Linked DNA regions of Homo sapiens: region 1 is linked to region 2. The links are contacts of gene promoters, found by promoter capture Hi-C in blood cells and fetal thymus (Javierre and others, 2016). All regions are on one chromosome and are shown on one strand. Each heading gives the region's core, a stretch centred on a gene start or on the middle of the fragment in contact. The rest is flanking DNA. Distances are from core to core; before and after follow the strand shown.

Region 1 (3,070 bases), core at 329-2,828, 280 kb before region 2:
GTTATTATTTTACGAAGTTAAATCTTTCAAAGAGCTACTCTTTTAGGATTTAGCCACACCTGAACTACGCTCGTACTTTCACATGTGATATGATTTAAGGCACAAAAATTCAGACCTTAGGAAATAAAGCATTTCCCTATTGTGTGATTTGTAGCTTATTCGTTAGGCCAGACCACACATCTCTGTATGGGAATAGGTTTCACCTGAAGATTATGGAAGTTTCCACTGTTAATCAGAGCAGATAAAGCTGGTTAGACTACCTGAATAGTGAGGATCAAGCCAGGAGGTTCTGATGCATCCATCTTCCATATACGAACTCAAATACTACCTCTATCTTACCCCAGAAATACTTTTCCAGGACTGACATATTTTCAGGTTATCCTTAGTAATGGTTCAAAAATTCTTGGGTCTAACCTCACTCAGGGTCATGTTGTTACCACAGCAATTGTATTATTTATTAAATAGCCATAGATTCGATGTCATATGGGTTACAATGATTACAGTAAAACTGAGTAAGAACATTAGGCCCTAGGGTCTTCTATCAATTTTCTCCTAGGAGAAAAAGAAAAAAGGCCATCACCTCCATTATTATCACCAGTGATCTCTTCAGAAAAATCTTCAAGAGAAGCTGTCAAGCTTGAATTTGTGGATACAAGTTTTACAAATTTCTAATTTTGCATAAAAGTTCAAATTTTATTGCTGGTGACAAATCCTGTCAGTTGTTTTTCTTGAAGTCTCACTTCATTCATTTTCAAGAAAATCTCTGCTAAATACCGAAGTCTGAAAAACCATAGTTTGTCTGCCAGTCATTCTTCAAGTAAAACTAATGTTCCATGAAAAAAGCAGCTAATTCAGTGCACAACTAAAATGATTATGCAAATATTTACCTTAGAGACAACCATTGTCCTAAGCTATGTGGCAGAAATGCTTTGTGCGTACTTCCTATTTCATCACACGGAATATTAAAAAGACTTGCACTCAATCATTGAGATTTTATCATATATAATTTTTATAAATAAGGACTATATTAAATACATTTTTAAATAAATTTGGATTTAAAAAAATTAGAGCGTGTGGTTCTAAAGAATGCAATCACTACTAGTATAGTATGGGGACACTGCCTTAATCCATGCTAAGGCACCAGCAGTTTTACCCACCAATGCTTTTGCACCATCAGTGCAAATGTCAACTCGGTGAAAACAGCAAATAACATGTTACTATTGTTTTGAAAATAGTTTTGACCTTACTGTTTCAGGGACCTGCAGTAGTCCATGGACTACACATTGAGAACCATTATCATACAATATGATTCCAATTTTATGAAAAAAATACGCAGGGATGTATATAATAAACATATGAAGGAATTTTCACCCAGTTTTAATTGTGTGGACTTTTTGACTGATGCGACAGGCCCTTACACGTAGTTAATGTCTTTTCATGCCAATATAGAAGTATATCAGTTTTTAAAAAATGTATTTTTAATAGACGAATAAGAATTGTATATATTTAGGGGTAAACATGATATTTTGATATATGTATACATTGTGGAATGGCTAAAACAAGCTAATTAACATATGCATTTGCCCCCATATAGTTATCTTTTGTGGTTAGAACACTTAACATCTACTCTTTCTGAAAATTTTAAGTATACAATATACTGTTGTTAACCATAAAGGGTGTCAGGAAAGCAGGCTGGGTTTGGAAAAATCTCTCGGACCCTCCCACTTTCTAATTGCTTCAGTGGGCCAGGGAGGAAAGCATACCTGTTCATAAGTGAACTTGGGAGTGGGGATGGGGACTCCCATCAAGGCCTCACCACTGCCCCTCTTCTAAAAGATGGCAGACCTAAACCTCTAACCCTAGGAAGCCAACCACTGCTCTGTGCCAAGAGTCATTCTTTCTGCCACACTGCTTTTTTCTCATCCCAAATGGTGACTCACTTTGTCATTGTGCCGTCTCCACAGTTGCCCCCCAAATAGGGCTCTTCCCTGTCAGGACCTGCATGAGGTTATACAATCCTCCAGCTTTGTTGATCCACAGACAAGCGTCAGGCAGCAGATCTTCGTCCTTCTTGTTTTGTTTTGTCTCTTATTATCATCATACACTAACAGTTCCCTTAGTCACCACCCCACTTCACCCCTCATCATCTCTTGCTTGGCTTATTATAACTTTCTAACAAATGTCCAGTCTCCAACATAGCTCCAATCCATCTTTAATATTGCCACCAGATTATTTTTCCTTTAGTCAAAAATGTTCAGCAATTTGCATAATATGACAAGATATTATTTCAATATTTTGGCTTGGGGTTCAGGATCTTCCTCAAACTTTCCTCACTCTGAATTTTCACATTTATCTCTCATCATTCCTCTTCCCATGGCTTCCATTCCAAGCAAATTGGCTACCTTCCTATCACAGGCACAGATTTCTCACTTGCATGCCTTTCTCCAAAGCATTTCCCCCTCCTGGAATGCCCTTCTATGTTGTCCTTCAGGGTTCAGCTTAAATGCGCCCTTCCTCCTTGAAGCTTTCTCAGCAACCTCTGCTTCATTTAAACAGATAGTGTATATTTGACAAAGAGCATATGCCCAGGTACTGTTAGTAATCCTTTTGTATTTATTTATTATTATTATTTTTCATAGATCTTTGTATATATACTTTTGTATTTATGTACCTTATCTCTCCATCTGGGTTTTAAATTCAAGCATTAGAACGACTTTTTGTCAGTTGAAACATACAACTTTATTGATGATACACAAATGAAGTCTTTGGTGGATAAATTCAAGTCAAAACAAATAATAGAACAGTAGGCCATTCATAATGGACAGGTTTACTGTCAATTCAGAAGAACCAGTAAAAATATTTCTATCCAAGCAGCACGATTAAAGTCACAAATATGTTTTCAGTACAAGAGGTCTATTTATTTGGTATTCATAAAATGGTTCAGCTTAAAGCTGGTGACTGTCACAGATAACATCACTCTGGATGATACATTATTCAACACTGGCAGCTGAAAGGATCCCTTTACTATATGAGCAAGTGGAAAAGCAGTAACTTTCAATTTTCAACGCTT
Region 2 (2,817 bases), core at 257-2,756:
ATGGAATAGCACACAGGGATATATCATTTAAGAATGTGAAGAAGAGATTATTTTTATGCGATAATTTTAATGGAGTATCTTCCTAAGAAAAAGGAACTTACTTTCCTCTATTTTGGTGTCCACAATCTTTCACTTTGGAGGCAAGTTAGCAACATAAGGTAACACAGCAAATTCTGGAAATTAATTACGAAATTTACATGGCAAAATGCTTTACTGGGATGCTCTGCAGTGGAATGGTCTCCACCAGCTAAGAACATTTCCCAAACTGCTTTAAAACACATTTCAATGGCAAATTTTACAGTTTGCTATTAGTAGGCTGTTTACAAGTATACAGAACTTTGTGTGAATACCGCTTATATTGATACAGTCAAGAAATATCTTTTTATGTTAGGAGTAATATGTGTTGGTAGGTACAACAGAACTTATTAAAGCCAAACCACCTTAAAGATGGACCTGTAAATCTTGCTTTACTAGGTCACATCCTCAAATAGCCAAAGAAAACTCTCCAAAGTGATTCCTGAAATCTGTACTTCTGCCACACTCTCTTCCTCTCTTTCCCTAGTAGAGTCCCCTCCACCAGACCTTACCTTCCTAAAATCCGACAGATCCTACTTTAAAGCTCAAGTATACACTTGTAACCTGCCCAAATTTCTAACGCCATCTCTCTGTAAATATTCTACTTCTAGTTTCTACACTGCAGGACGTTGAACACCAAAGGGGGTTTACTCCCCCTTATTTCTTCGGTATTTCCTCTTTTATCTCCGCCCCTTTCTCCATCGGTCCCCGTTCCCTTATCCTTGACCCTCTTGGCCCACAGCACTTCTATCTTGCCTCCTCTCTCTTCCAAATCACACCTCAGCTTCCTACAGCACACTAAGGTGTCCTGGCTGGGAGAGAAATTATGTGGTATTTTTTTTTCCCTTCAAACTCCTGCCTCATGAGTACCTGCAATTCTTTTGCCTGGGGGCCCCCATCCTTTACAGGTGGGAGAGGTAGGGAAGGCCCTCTCTGCTTCAGTCCATCTTGCACACTCGGGGCTAATACGGCGGGGCGGGGCGGGGCGAGCTTGGCCTTTACTGCGCCACGGCAGGTGGGGGTGGGGCAGTGGCGAACCGCGCCCAGCCCAATCTCGGACGGGCTGAAGAGAGGCAGCGAAGGAGATGGGGCCGCCCCCGCACCCCGGGACGGGAACTCACCTTCTCTGAGGCAAGGGCGGGTGTCTACTTTAAAACTACTGCCCCCCCTCCCCGCCGCCGCCATAGTGGAGCCGCCAAAGCCGCCGCCGCCGCCGTCGCCACAGCCACCGGCAGGCGGGCAGGCAGGGGCGGAGGTGGCGGAGGAGGCAGGAACAATTACTGCCGCCGCCGCCGCCGCCGCCGCCGCTGCCGCGCAGGCGGTGTAGGAGGAGGAGGAGGCGGCAGAGACGGTAGCTTCCTGAGGGGAAGACTCCGCCGCCAGCGGGGTGACTGTGCTCGGCGCCGCCGCCATCGCAGCGAGGCGCGCGGACAATTGCACTTGCGTCTCGATTCCGTTAAGCTCCTTTAGCCCCGCCTTCCGTTAGCCCCACCCCCTTTGTTCCTCTTTTTAACGCTTCAGCTCGAGCCTCGTTCTCGCTCCTCAGTCCACCAATCGGAGAGCTTTAAGCCCGCCGGCCGTTTCCCCCTCCCCCACTGCCTTGCGTCACCCCACCTCCCTTTGGAGGGGAAGCAACGACGGCCAAGGGCAAAGGGCAAAAAGCGCGGGATGTGAAAGCACGTGGGCCTCGCACAGTGAGGCTTCTTTGGAGATCTAATCTAAAACCAATTTAAGAGGAAAAAATGTCTGGAAACTATTGATCTCACCTCCAAAATATCTCTGAAATATATCTTCACCTGGCTTTTTTTTTCTCTTTCTTTTTTTTTTTTTTTTTTTTTTTTTTTGAGGGAGAGTCTCGCCCTGTAGCCCAGGCTGGAGTGCAGTGGTGCGATCTCACTCACTGCTACCTCTGCCTCCCGGGTCCTGGTTCAAGCAATTTTGCCTCAGTGTCCCGAGTAGCTGGGATTACAGGCATGTGCCACCATGCCCAGCTAATTTTTGTATTTTTAGTAGAGATGGGGTTTCACTATGTTAGCCAGGCTAGTCTTGAATTCCTGACCTCATGATCCACCTGTCTCGGCCTCCCAAAGTGCTGGGATTACAGGCGTGAGCCACCACGCCCGGCCCCTGGCTTTCTTAAAGCACTTAGTACAGAGAATAGAACAGAAGCTTTCATTCTGACACATTGTTTCCGTGGCCTCTTAAAGGACTGCCTATCTATCGATCTGCCCATCTTAATTACAATAACTTCCTGTGAATTCAGCACCCAATAGAAGTACTAGAATATTACTGATCACTTAAATCTCATCTTGTCCCCCCAACCTCTCCTCTCAAAGAGACCAATATCCTGATTTATATTTATTATTTCTTTGCATTTTAACATATATTCTTATCACATAGATATGTGCCTAAATAGTGTTGTTTAGTTTTGATTGTTTTCAATTTTCACAAATATTTATATCTTTTTCTAGGTAGCATTCTGGGACTTGTTTCTGCTTTTTTTTCCCTCAAGCAATACTCTTACCTCAGCCTCTGGAGTAGCTGGGATTACAGGAAGGAGCCACCATGCTTGGCCTGGGACTTGTTTCTTTCACGTAACATTCTAAGATTCATCTATGTTGTTGCTTGTAGCTGTAGTTATGCACTGTCGATGCTGTAGGATATCTCACCCTTTTCCTTATTGATGGGCACACCTCCTGGTGCCTTTGTGCAAGTCTCCCTTAAGTATTCTCTCCTTTCCAG

Evidence for each region. The method cuts DNA at HindIII sites, captures the fragments that hold promoters and counts their contacts. A CHiCAGO score of 5 or more calls a contact.
Region 1: a contact is called between a fragment that was not itself captured here and the fragment with the promoter of ZMAT1 in region 2, in 1 of 17 cell types (monocytes). The highest score is 5.1, in monocytes.

Annotation. Positions count from the first base shown.
Region 1 is chrX:101,652,567-101,655,636 of GRCh38, forward strand. It overlaps ARMCX2 (armadillo repeat containing X-linked 2), which reads right to left. Exons shown (of 6, transcript NM_177949.4): 6 at 2,715-3,070. Among named protein-coding and RNA genes, the nearest start is that of ARMCX2, 5.7 kb to the right of the region's middle. The HindIII fragment of the contact is 1,888 bases long and covers 635-2,522 here.
Region 2 is chrX:101,930,521-101,933,337 of GRCh38, forward strand. It overlaps ZMAT1 (zinc finger matrin-type 1), which reads right to left and starts at 1,507. Exons shown (of 6, transcript NM_001394560.1): 1 at 1,197-1,507. The coding sequence starts at 1,488. RefSeq lists an enhancer at 1,286-1,786. The HindIII fragment of the contact is 3,682 bases long and covers 1-2,242 here.